3 separate regions of the Homo sapiens genome follow, and regions 1 and 3 are each linked to region 2. Evidence: promoter capture Hi-C in 16 types of primary human blood cells and fetal thymus (Javierre and others, 2016). All regions are on one chromosome and are shown on one strand. Each heading gives the region's core, a stretch centred on a gene start or on the middle of the fragment in contact. The rest is flanking DNA. Distances are from core to core; before and after follow the strand shown.

Region 1 (4,407 bases), core at 492-2,991, 100 kb after region 2:
GAGGAAGAGCGGCAGAAGGAGCTAGAAGAAATTTATATGCTGCCTCGAATTCGGAGTTCCACTAAAAAGGTGATCAAGTGAGATGAAAGATATGAAATTATTTCTTATGTTGTGAATGCTACAGAAGTGTTGATTATTCAAAGAAGAGGCCTTGCATTGTTCCCCTGACACAGAGGCTTCAGGAGCAGAGTTGATACTGTAGGAAACTTAACAAAGGAAAGTGGAGAAATCTGCAGAGCTCCTGAGCACACCTGTGAGACATCGGATTTGGTCTTTGCAAATTGGCTCTTTGTGAAGCTGATAAACAGGGTCTGAAATTTCCAGAAGTTTGCATTTTGCCTTTGAGTAGTCCTCACAGTTTGGCTGTTAATTGCCACTGCCTTCAACTTTCAGAAAGTCACACCTCTGTTTGTCCATAACAGTTCACAGCACTTGATATAAATACTTAGTAAAGGATTATATAACTATAAATAAGAAACATATACCAACTTGACAGTTCACAAAGCTCCATCACAGACACTATCTAATTTGATTTTTGTAACAACATTGAAATAGGTAGAACAAGTTTTTTTACCCATTTTGTTGGAGGTAATAGACACAGATTTGTTCAAGGTCACAGTAAATCAGTATGAGGTAACACTAGCTACCATTTATTGAGCCCTTACAATGTGCTAGGCATACTTCTAAGTGCTTTAACTTACTGAAAACCATCTGTTATAGGTACTATTGTCTTCATTTTTCAAATGAGAAAATAAAGGCACAAAGAGTAAAATTACTTGCCCAAAGGAGTAAACATGAACCTGTTTTATAATGGGATATTGTAAAAATATTCATATATTTTTAATCCAGTTCACTTATCGTTATATTACAATGTCTCTGAAAGTATGACTGTCCTAAGTGGGTATTTCTCCAAGACCTGTCTCCCCTTATTTGTCAAAGGAAAATTGACTTGTCTGATATGGTGAGAAGTTCTGAATACTAAAGAATTAAGATGGCCTTCTCTTAGTCCTTTCACCACTTGAACTTCGCACTTGTTACAGTGTGACTTTGCCTCGATCTTTCTCAGGCTCAGACAAATGACAGTGACTCTGACACTGAGTCTAAGAGGCAGGCCCAGAGATCCTCTGCTTCTGAGAGTGAAACGGAAGACTCTGATGATGACAAGAAGCCAAAGCGCAGAGGGCGTCCGAGGAGTGTGCGGAAGGACCTCGTGGAGGGATTTACTGATGCAGAGATCCGAAGGTTGGTGGAGGCTCTGTTCTCACTGAGCTTGTTTGAAAGTGCGTACTGTAAGTCTTGGGTTGACTGGATCCTGGACATCGTGACAGGGTAGGCAGAGGCTAATACCTACAAAAAAGGAAAGAGAAGCTGGGTCCTGTCCCAGATCTGTAGGATGATCCTTCCTTCTCCAAGGTTTCTTTCTGTTGAGATCACTTTTATTTGTTGTTCATCTCTCTATTTCTCTCTTATTCTCTGGTTATTCAGAACATTTTCACAAAGTTCAGCTCGGGGAAGGAGATAATTGACATACATGTATATACAGACTTATGTATCTGTATATAAAAGAAATATCAAAAATAAAAATGGTACAAATAAGTCTACCCTCACTACCTCTCCCCTCCGCCACAATCCCACTTCCACCTGTGTTAGTACTGACATCAGTTTGCTAGTGGTTTGCTTTGATTTATAAGTAGTATGTACAGCATGTTGTTCAGCACCTTGCTTTCCCCGATCCCATTTAAAATCCATTTTAGACATCTTTCTATGTGAGTGATTACTATACATTTCTTGGTATCTGATTCAAATGTCTCTATCCTCCATAAAAAAATCTAAAATTGTTGCTTACAAATTATTTTTTTTCCAGTTTCCATCTTTTTTTTTTAAGCCTGAAGAAAATAGAAAGTATAAAGATGGTTTTAAGGCCTAATCCATATTATAATTATATTAAATAGTCCTTTAAGTTTCATGTATTTGAAACTGTGAGGTGTTTCTTTTCACTTAAAGGTCACACCTATTCTTCTTTCTTTGTTTAATTTACTATGGAAAAATAGAAATATTTCAAAATACTGACAGAATAGCATGTAACACATCCCCTCTTGTGCTTATCATCTTAACAATTTTGAATTTGTAGCCAAAATTGTATGTATATATACACACCCCACCTCTTCTTGCTCCCTATTCCCAGTATTATTTTGAGAAGAATGTGTTTTCTGCTATGGGGCAGTATGTTCTATAGCTGTATTTGGCTTAGTGTTTTTCAGGTCTTTAATTTCTTCATTGATTTTCTGTATAGTTGTGGTTATTTTGGTAGAGTCAGAATCTTGCTCTCTTGCACAGGCTGGAGTATGATCCTATCTCACTGTAACCTCACACTCCTGGGCTCAAGTGATCCTCCTGCCTGAGTGCCTTTTTCACTCAGCCTCCCAGGTAGCCAGGTCTACAGGCATGTGCCACCATGTCTGGCTAATTAAAAATTTTTTTTTTTGGTAGAGACAAGGTTTCATTATGTTGCCCAGGCTGGTCTCAGACTCCTGGCCTCAAGTATCCTCCTGCTTCAGCCTCCCAAAGTGTTGGGATTATAGGCCTGAGCCACCGTGCGCAGCCTAGTTGTTCTACCCATTATTGAAAATGGGATGTTGACATCTCTGTTACTCTTATATGATCCATTTGTTCTTCAATTGTTAGTTTTTGCTTCATGTGTTTTTGGACTCTTATTAATTGTATATATTTTTTATAATCGATAGGTCTTGATTGGCCTTTTTATTGTAACATGTATTTCTGTCTGTAGTAACAATTTTTGTTTTAATTCCTATTTTCAGTTTGATATTAGTATAGCCACTCCAGCTTTCTTTTTGGGTATTTGAAATTTTAAAAAATGGTATTTGGCCAGGCATGGTGGTTCACGCCTGTAATCCCAGCACTTTGGGAGGCCAAGGCAGGCAGATCGCTGGAGCCTAGGAGTTTGAGACCAGCATGGTCTCAACATGGCGAAACCCTCTCTCTACTAAAAATACAAAAAATTAGCCAGGTGTGGTGGTACACACCTGCAGTCCCAGGTACTTGGGAGGCTGAGGCTGAGGCACGAGAATTGCTTGAACCCAGGAGGCCAAGGTTTGCAGTGAGCCGAGATGGCACCACTAAACTCCAGCCTGGGTGACAGAGCAAAACTCTCTAAAAGAAGAAGGAAAAAAAAAAAAAGATGGTATCTTAAAATTTTTTAAAAATATTTTTTCTGCCAATCTCTTTTTTTTGATTGCAGTATTTAATCTATTTACATTTAATGCAGTTATTATAAAGTAGGAATTATGTCTGCATTTTGCTATTTGTCTTCTATATGTCATGTTTTTTTTGTTTATTTCCCCATTACTACTTTCCTTTGTGTTAAATATATAATATACCATTTTAATTACCTTAAAAAAAAAACTTTTTTTTTCACTTATTTTCTTAGTGGTTGCCCTAGAAATTACAAGTAACATCTTAGAACAATTTACTTTGAATTAACATCAATTTAATTTCAATGGCATTATAAAAACTTTGCCCCAGTTATAGCTCACCATCCCCATTTGTGCTGTTGTCGCACATTACATCTTTACACATTTTAAACCCATCAATGCAGTTTTATAATTCATACTTTATATAGTTAGTTGTCTCTTTTTTTTTTTTCTTTTGAGACGGAGTTTTGCTCTTCTCACCAAGGCTGGGGTACAGTGGTGCAATCTCGGCCCACTGCAACCTCCACTTCCCAGGTTCAAGTGACTGTCCTGCCTTAGCCTCCCAAGTAGCTGAGATTACTGGCTCCTGCCACCACGCTGGCTAATTATTTTTGTATTTTTAGTAGAGATGGGATTTCACCATGTTGGCCAGGCTGGTCTTGAACTTCTGACCTCAGGTGATCGGTGTGCCTCGGCCTCCCAAAGGGCTGGGATTAGAAGCGTGAGCCACCCACACCCAGCCTAGTTAGTTGTCTTTTAAAATCAGATAGAAGGAAAAGAGTTACAAAAATGCATGTATACTGTTTTTATATTTACTTACTCTATTATTCCATGGGTGCTCTTATTTCTTCATGTGATTTGAGTTACTATTTTATGTCCTTTCATGTCTGCCCAAAGGACTCTCTTTTAGCATTTTATTTTGAGGCAGGTCTGCTAACAATGGATTCTCTATTTTGGCTTAGCTCGCACTGTTAATTTCATCTTCATTTTTGAAGGAAAGTCTTAATTTCTTTTTTTCTGTTTCTCACGTGGGATAATCTCAATTGGCCTATCTTCAGATTTGGCAGTTCTCTCTTCTTCAGGCTAATATCTGCTGCTGAGCCTCACCAGTGATTTTTTTTTTCATTTCCGTTATTGTAGTTTTCAACTCTAGAATTTCTATTTCACTCTTTAAAAAATGTCCGTTTTTAAACAG
Region 2 (4,661 bases), core at 1-2,500:
AGAGAGCTACCTCTTTTTTTTTTCCCCATCCATTTCAGGAAAGTTTAGGTTTTCATTTTTTTCCTATGGTCTTCTTAGAGTTGTTTCCACGTTAAAGTAGGAAGAAGTAACGAAAAAAAAGTGAGATTTGCCGAAAGCAAATGAAACTTGTTTTGCCTGGTTCTCTGGAAGGAGGTTGAAAAGGTAGACTATGATTTTTCAGGTTCAAACTGCTACTCTAACAAACATTGTCCTACAGGGTGGAATCCAGTCAACCGGTATTGAGATTGATTCGCTAAGGCCTCAGGACACTGGACATTCTTTTTAATTGTTTTTTTTGATTTCCATGACGACAGCTCACAAGACACTAGACATTCTTTTAGGCTCTCAGGTAAATGCGCAACAGGCAGTCTACAAATCCACAAATAAATCGCATCTCAACTCGGATACTGGGGCTAGGGAATGTGCTGATGGTAAAACCATTGGTCCTGACTGTGTGACCTTCATGGAAGGCCTGGGTGCTTAGAACAAATATTTTGAGGATATGGCTGCTTGCCCAAGGGCTGTGGGCCTGTATCTTGTTTGCTCATCATCCTGTCAGTCATTTTTTTCTTTCCCTTTTTTTAAAGACAAAATCTGAACCTAGAAACACCGAAGCCAGAGCTTTTTCTAGACGCGAATCCACTATTTGTGCGACCCTGCACTAACCATTCTAGCCTGGCCTAGACCATACCAGGAACCCTCCAGCTAGCCTGGAGGGGTCCGCACTGCGGGGAAAAAAGCAACAGCTCAGCTCCAACCCCAAAGGTTCCATCACCAGCCAATCGTGGCCCGGGGCTTCTCAAGAAAACCAGAAACGCCTACGGACAGTGAATGGCACTAAGGCCAGCCTATCCGCACGAAGGAGGCGGAAGGGGTGGTGTTGAAATTAACCAATAGAATGGAAGAAGTTGTTGTTGGGAGGGAGGAAGACGCCAGCTAACGTGCGTGAGGCCGCTCCCGGATAGGGGATGCAGGAAGCTCGTGGAGCCAATGGCCGCGGCGGGCGGGCGGCGGCGCGCGTGCGCGTTGGCCCCCGGGCCTGCGGGCGGGAGGCGGGGATGGTGGGGGAGGGGAGCGGGCTGGAGCGCGGCGGAGCTCCTGCCGCCGCCGCAGCCGCTGCCGCCGCAGCGAAGAGGCCATGTTGTGTGGTGTGTGGGGCGGGGGGAGGAGGAGGAGGGAGTAAAGCCTAGAGAGGAGACGGGAGAGAGACACCACACACACGGCACAAGATGGCCGGAGAGGCAGCAGCACCCCGAGCTGTCAGGCGTTCCGCCGCGGCCGCGAGGCCCGCCGGCCGGCGGGGAGCTACGCCCGGACGGCCAGCAGGCCCGCGGGAGTGGGGCTGCCGCGGCTGAGGCGAGGCGGGCCGCGCGCGTCGGCGTCACAGCCCGCGGCAGAGGCGCCCAGGGCGGCCGGGCCCACGACGCCGAAAGCGCCGCTGCGGTTGCCGCCTCGGAGGCTCCCCCGGGCCCCGGCGGCTGGACCCGGCGCGGGCGGGAGGCTCGGGCGGGCGGTCCGGCCCGGGACTCGGGTTTGGGCGACCAGGAGGTGCCGGTGGCCGCGCTCGGACCCGGTGAGTGGCTCCCTAGCTCCTTTTATTGTCCTTTGTCCTTGGGAGGAAAAGCAAAATGTCCTTGAGCGCGCGAGCAGGAGGGGGCGGCGGGCCGGGCCTCGCCGCTCGGCTCTTCTCGCACTGCCCCTCCGTGGTCGGGGGCCGGCTCTCGCCGGCGGGATGCGCCTCGGTGCCCTGGGCCCGAGTCGTAGGGTCCTGGGGTAGGGGGCACGCGGGGCCCCGCTGCAGAGCCCGCGGGCGGCAGGTGGGCGGGGGGCAGCCTCGTCGCCGGGACTGGATCCGCCGGGAAAGGGGCGGCGGGTGAATGCCGGCGAGAGCCCGAAGGGGATCGGGCGTGGAGAGCCCCTTTCTGTCCTGGTGAGTTATTTTGATATTTAGGGTAAAAAAATCCCTTTCAGGTTCTCCAACGGAGGAGCTTTTTAACCTCTTTCCGGTGAGGTGGGAACTCATCTTCATGATCGAATTTAAAAGAACAATGGAACCCTGACTACGTTTCAACAAAAATAAAACTTGTTTTTTTCCCTCCTATTGGGTGTTGGCTTTTAACTCTTTCAAAGCCGATTTTGAAACGGCTGCAGTGATACATGCGAAGGTACTTGCTGCTTATTAAACCTTTATGACGTTAAGGTTGTCTTTGAAAAATGCAAGTTGGAGGAGTGCTTCTGGTATTTCAGAATTACGAAGACAAGTTTACTGTGTCGTCAAGGCTGTTTAATGGAAATAGATTTGATAATTACGGTGCTAGCTAGCTGATGACGTTTGGTTAATGTAGTTTATTTTACCGAGTAATGACGCCAAGATCATTTGATCTCCTGATATTTAAATATGATTAAATACACTGTTTGGTACTTTTTAAAAAGGTCTCAAGGAGCCGTTATCTGCAACTTCTCACACCTGAATGTTAGAACGTACTTGGGTCAATTCCTAGTCTTTAAAAGTTCATAATTTAATTATTTTTAAGAATTTATATTATCACAAGCCATGATCGAAAAACTTTCACAAAAGAACATTCTGACACCAAATCTCTTCCTGAAGTTACTTTCTCGTAATGTAAATATGAATAAAGTAGGACTGCTCTCGGTAATGGGCGATGAAGAGGAGCCATATTTGTTGCATTTGTTGCATGTATAAAAATCTAGATATGCTTAAAACGGAACAGTATTTTAAAAGTACAGGTTTCATAAAATTTAGTAGAGTTCTCTGTATAGTCTCTAATCTTAGAAAAATGTTGGAAGGGTAATTTTTAAGTGTAGTGGTTTGAAGAACAAACCAGAAGCGCACAAACCTTTGTGTATTTTAGAATATATTTGTCTTCATTCTGCGGAGCTCTTGTGTTGTAAAGGTGCAGAACTACGTAAAAATAGTGTTGGGCAGACTTACATAGTACATCTGAAATCAGATACTGGTTTATTCGACCATATTTCTAAGGGCATTTTTCCAGTAAAATTGTTTTATTTTTTGAGTAGCCTTCCTATAGTGGTACATGTTACATCAGTTGCGCATATCTTGATTTTACAGAATCTGTCTTAAGTACCAATTTTGGTTTTTCAAATCAATGTTTCTGAAATTTTTGAACACTGAAAGTGGTTTTAAATGAATATTCTGAATCTAGTTCTTTAGAATCCTCTTTGAATTGTGAAATGCAAAATAATTGTTAGCAGTTTAACCTGAAAGATCTTTTTACATGATAAATGGGGGAGGAGAAAGACTGAAATGAAAATGTTGAAGACCCTGATTTGAAATTGAGTGTAAAGGTCTAGATACTGTAAGTTTTAGAGTAGCTTTAGAGACAAAGCTAGTATCCCACTTGGTGAGATCAAGTAACTTGTGGTTTAAAATTTAAAGTAACCAGTGGCCATTTTAACTTCACTAATTTCTCTTGGAGGAGCTAATTTTTAATTGCTCATGATTGTAAAACATACTTCCGGATGGTAAGGGAGATGTTAAGATGATTTGTCTTGAAGAATGGTAAACTTTTTCTTTGTTTATTGCCTGTCATAAAAAGAGGGAAAGTAAAAAAAAAAAGGTTCATAATCTTAAATCAGTCCAAAAATTTGAATTTTCTGTATTTCTGTTTAATTCAATGCGTTAATCTTTAGCATTGGTCAATACAGCCAAAAGATGAGGAAAACAAAGACTGATAGATACTAAGATAAGAAATAACTGCAACCATAAATGTATACAGGTTATGTGTCCATGAGCCATCTCTTCAGTTTGCCCATAGATTTTTGTCTGTGGAATATTTTCTTGTTTCATCACACTGAATCGTTGGCCAAGAAATGCTTGAAAATCAAAACATTAATATCATCTTTCTTCTTTTTTTTAAAGGTGACTTAAGAGATTAAAATTAATTTGGTTGCTGTTGGTTCTGAACAAATAATGAGTTCTTTTATTTGAGGTAAGAGTGGGTTAATTTTTATTGTTTTGACAAAAATTAGCTTATTAGGCTTTTGTTTTATCTTTAATAATTTACATTTCAATTAATGAATGGGTATCATTTTTAAAAGTTGTGATTATGAATATGAGTAAACTATCAAATAATTTGACAAAAGCCTTTAAGCCTTTTCACTGCAGGAAAGATTAAAAGTATATACGCATAGCCATTGTAACTTAATGTACCCTTTGAATAGTTTAAAATACTGAAGGTCCTTTAAGCCTTTGTTTAATTTTGGGAACAAGAGAAGACTGATTAGATTTTGAGGAAAACCATGAACCAAAGATAGCTTTTTTTTTCTGTTTAACTCTGTATATTGTGCAAACAATTTTAATCTTTTAAGTATTTAAAGAAATAAGCTTATTGGAGAATTTGAACTAGTTTGCTATTCATACTGATAGATTTTAGGGAAGAACATTTAAAAAATCAGGTTTTGAGCATAGATTTTAGTTTCTTTTTTGTAATTAAAAAGTTTAAAAACACTTATTTTTACTTGCTATTGTTTGCTTCATAATTAAGTTTAGAATCTTATTTGTTTTCACCAAAAGGTATGCCATTTTGAAGACTGAGACGTTGGAGTTTTATCCTAGAGGATAAAGGAAATCTTTGGGAAAGTCAGTATTTTATATAGCA
Region 3 (4,149 bases), core at 121-2,620, 120 kb after region 2:
CAATACATACGTACATTTAAATACTAGCAACCTAATCAGTTATTAGCTGACTTTGTATAGGTATATAATCTCTTTGGTACTCAGTTTCCATCCGTGAAATGAGAATAATAAACTTACGTTGAAGGGTTGCTATGAGAATTAAATGAGAGGATATCAGTAAAGAGCTTCTGCCTCTACAGTTGTAACTGGTTATTACTGGAAAGTTTAGACTTCTCTGAGTCCCTTGAGGCTATTTGCTTGAAAACAAGCTTCTAAGTATAGACAGTGATGAACCACTGGGGGCAGTGCTTCTTTTTCCAGAAAGTACATAAGTAGATATAAAATTTGTAGCAAAAATTCATAGCCCTGTTTTGTTTCCTAGGATGATGGCTTGGAAAAAAGTCCAATGAAAAAAAAACAGAAGAAGAAAGAGAACAAGGAGAACAAGGAGAAACAAATGAGTTCTAGGAAAGACAAAGAAGGGGACAAGGAAAGAAAGAAGTCAAAAGATAAGAAAGAGAAGGTAATGATGCCCTTCTGTTCATGCAGATATCCACAGCCTTTGCAATTCGCCATTTGGATTTAGAAGTAGAATGAGATTTGAGGGCCCTGGAATAATTGTCTTTTTATGGGTATGTTCAAGAAGGATGGGTGGGGCCGTTGATGGGATACCTGCACCTGTCCTTGCAGAGAGAGGGGAACCTGCAAGTTTGGGGTGTTCTTTAAAAAAGAAGGCCTTTACTTGGTCTTTTATGACATATTTCAGGGGGAAATGTTTGAATGAGATAGGACAGGTGAGAGAAATCGGCATTTACATGTAAATACGAAATACGTTCTCAGATTCATATTAGAGGAGCACAATCCACAACTGAATTTGAATACTTGAAGAGTTTGAGTCAAAAACAAATATTAGCAAGAGTTATTGGAATATAAATGGATGAAAAGCCTTGCTATTATAACCTTTACATTAGGGGTTTTATGAAGTTCATTCTAAACCAAAGAATTTGGTACAGTGTTGCAGTGTATACTTGCTGACCTCTGAACACAGTAAAATCATTGCCAAAACACAAACAACTGCTGTAATTCTAATATCCAGTTGATAACTCTAATAGATTTCTTGATAAGTGCCTTTGAAACTTTTACTTTGAAATTTTATATTAAATATAAAATAAACTTCTATTTAAGAACAAATATAAAAATCAGATTAGGCTGTTTGGGTAGTTTTTCCTCCTCACTTAGCAGTATATCACAACTTTCCAAGTGATTAAATGTTAAAGTCATTTTTACAGCCTTGGCAACGTAGGGAGACCTCGTCTCTACAAAATAAAAACAAGCAAAAATCTAGCTGGGCATTGCGGCATGTGCCTACGGGCCCAGTTGCATGGGAGGCAGAGGTGAGAGGATTGCTTAGGCCCAGGAGCTCGAGGCTGCAGTGAGCCATGGTTGTGTCACACTTCACTCCAGCTTGGGCAACAGAGGAAGACCTTGTCTCAAAAAAAAAAAAAAAAAAATCATTTTTAATAGTTGGGGAGGATTCTGTTTGGGTGTAACATGTTAGAAGCAATTTGAATTTCCCATTTTGAAATACTTTCTAATTTTTGATGTTAATAGACCATACTGTGATAAATAACCTGTGCATTTGTGCTCCCACAGAAAGACATTATTTTTCTTAAAGTAAAATATTAAAAAAATAAAAAAAGAGCAATTTTAGCAAACATCTGTTTATCCACTCTCCAGATACCACAACTGTTGTTAATATTTTTTCATGTTTACTTTAAGTGGCTTTTTTTTTTTTTTTGGCGGGGCCAGGCGGGGGGAGACGCTGATATCTTTTGTATTTCATGAACATATGACTGATACTGTTGAAGCTGCCCCCTGTTCCCTTTCCCTGATTTTATTACTCTTCCTCTGTTTTCCCCATAACCACTACTGTGAAGTGGGTCCGAAACCTTCCTGTTCATGTTTTTATATTTGTAGTACATATTATAGTGTATATCCATATAACTATAAACAAAGCATACTGTATGCTTAAAAATGTACATGAAGTCAAGCTAGGCGCAGTGGCTCACACTTGTAATCCCAGCACTTTGGGAGGCCGAGGTGGACAGATCACAAGGTCAGGAGTTTGAGACCTGCCTGGACAACATGGTGAAACCCCGTCTGTACTAAAAATACAAAAAATAGCTGGGTGTGGTGGCGTGCGCCTGTAATCTGAGCTACTTGGGAGGCTGAGGCAGAAGAATCTCTTGAACCCAGGAGGCAGAGGTTGCAGTGAGCCGAGATCATGACGCTGCACTCCGGCCAGGATGACAGAGCGAGAATCTGTCTCAAAAAAAAAAAAAAAAAAAGTACCTGAAGTCATTTTATATATTCTTCTGCAACCTTTCCTTCAATGTAATTGAGATTTGTATAGAGTTCATTTACAATAATGTAGTTAATACAGATTCCTAAACCAAAGGGTATGCTGTTAATAAAGGTTGCTACATGATACTCTAGAGAGTTCTGCCAATTTACAAGCTTAACCTCTTGATGACATTTCTGTGCATTTTATGGATAAAGGAGTAAGAAGCCCAAAAATAGCACTGATGAAATTGAAGTTATAATTGGGTACATTTAGAGATGGAAATGGGAATAATGTGTGAGTAAGCTGCTAATCAGACAGGTTTGTCTTCATGATGTTTCAGGATTTTATTTTACTTTTTAAAAAATAAACTGAGACCATCATATTTACCCATTTTAATAACACAACATAGGTAAGAAACCTAAATCGCACGGTAGGATTGCACAAATGACAATGACTCCTTGTAACTCTTTTTTAAAAGCCTAAAAGTGGTGATGCCAAATCTTCGAGTAAATCAAAGCGATCTCAGGGTCCTGTCCATATTACAGCAGGAAGTGAACCTGTCCCCATTGGAGAGGATGAGGATGATGATCTGGACCAGGAGACATTCAGCATAGTAAGTCTTGAAATCGGGGGGTGCCAGTGTCTGCAGCCGCGGTACTTGCTGTGGCTCTGCCTTTTATAGGTCCAGCCAGAGCTTCAGTTGAGCTAAGCAATAGTACATTACTTGGGAAACACATTGCTTACAGTATCGGAAGACCATGTGCTCTTCAGCAGGCTGGCAGGAAGAGATTTTCTTGTCTTTTATTGAGGGGAAGTTTAAGGAGTGGATTTCATGTCTTGTGCTCCTAGTTAAGAGAGGCTCTCAGGGCCCTTAGAGGCATTTGGGAAAGAGAAGTGTTCACTGAGCAAGTATTTATTGAATGTTTTCTGTGTTCCAGCCCCCAGAGTTACCATGTTGAATAGATAACCATTTCTATCATCGTAAACTGTACATTGGAGTAGGGGAGTTAGATAACTACACAAATCATGTTGGTGCCCCTGTGACAGGGCTCTGGAGGAGAGAGAGTGCATACTGTGGAGATCCTGTGAGAAGGGAATTTGACCTAGTCAGGGGTTGCCAGGAGGGCTTGTGTAAGGAAGTGATGTTTGAGTTGGGTTCTGAAGGAAGAATAAAAGGTAACAGGAGAAGAGGGGAGGGCAAGGCGATGGGGAGCGAGTGCATGGACCAGGTCTTGCACGGGATTGGATACAGGCCAGTGTGTCCTCAAGGTCCCTTTGCCCCTGGCTGGAGCTGCAGGTATAGATTTCACTGTGCCACCATCCCTTCCCCACCTCTCTGTGGTCTCTTCTCCCCATACTTCCACAAATCCATTAATCAAACGGCTCATTCAGGCTGAAAGAAAAAGCGGTTTTCTTTCAAATTTGAAAATACTTCCATCCTGTGGCAGCAAAGGACCCTGTTGACCCTGTCCTGTAACCTCTCTCTGACTTCTTTCTCTGAGTTCTCTAAAACCTATACACGTATGTATATAGATATTGTTTTCTTTGCACTTAACTCTGTTTTCTTAAGTCTCTTTTTTGCCTGTGAGCTCTCTGAGGACAAGTATTGTTTTATATAAAGGTCATTTAGATGCTAGAAGTATATCAATAAATGAGTAAATTGAATAAATGAATAAACTAATTACATAGCCAGCTAACCAATCTGTTTCCTAGTCTTTCTTTTCCGAGTGTTTATAAGAGAAAATGATATCTAATGTTCTATGGTACCATGATATTTAAAAAATGCTCTTACAAATGACTCATTTAATCTTGTTTTTATATTATGA

The links. The method cuts DNA at HindIII sites, captures the fragments that hold promoters and counts their contacts. A CHiCAGO score of 5 or more calls a contact.
Region 1: a contact is called between a fragment that was not itself captured here and the fragment with the promoter of CHASERR in region 2, in 9 of 17 cell types (naive B cells, total B cells, activated CD4 T cells and 6 more). The highest score is 12.1, in naive B cells.
Region 3: a contact is called between a fragment that was not itself captured here and the fragment with the promoter of CHASERR in region 2, in 10 of 17 cell types (naive B cells, total B cells, activated CD4 T cells and 7 more). The highest score is 10.7, in naive B cells.

Annotation. Positions count from the first base shown.
Region 1 is chr15:92,984,432-92,988,838 of GRCh38, forward strand. It overlaps CHD2 (chromodomain helicase DNA binding protein 2), which reads left to right. Exons shown (of 39, transcript NM_001271.4): 25 at 1-69; 26 at 1,067-1,242. Among named protein-coding and RNA genes, the nearest start is that of MIR3175, 82 kb to the left of the region's middle. The HindIII fragment of the contact is 8,348 bases long and covers 1-4,407 here.
Region 2 is chr15:92,881,593-92,886,253 of GRCh38, forward strand. CHASERR (CHD2 adjacent suppressive regulatory RNA) reads left to right here and starts at 1,251. Exons shown (of 6, transcript NR_037601.1): 1 at 1,251-1,594; 2 at 1,993-2,186; 3 at 3,923-3,992; 4 at 4,577-4,661. RefSeq lists enhancers at 578-667, 1,093-1,734 and silencers at 978-1,107, 1,728-1,977. The HindIII fragment of the contact is 7,161 bases long and covers 1-4,385 here.
Region 3 is chr15:93,001,816-93,005,964 of GRCh38, forward strand. It overlaps CHD2 (chromodomain helicase DNA binding protein 2), which reads left to right. Exons shown (of 39, transcript NM_001271.4): 33 at 362-502; 34 at 2,802-2,936. Among named protein-coding and RNA genes, the nearest start is that of RGMA, 85 kb to the right of the region's middle. The HindIII fragment of the contact is 2,248 bases long and covers 247-2,494 here.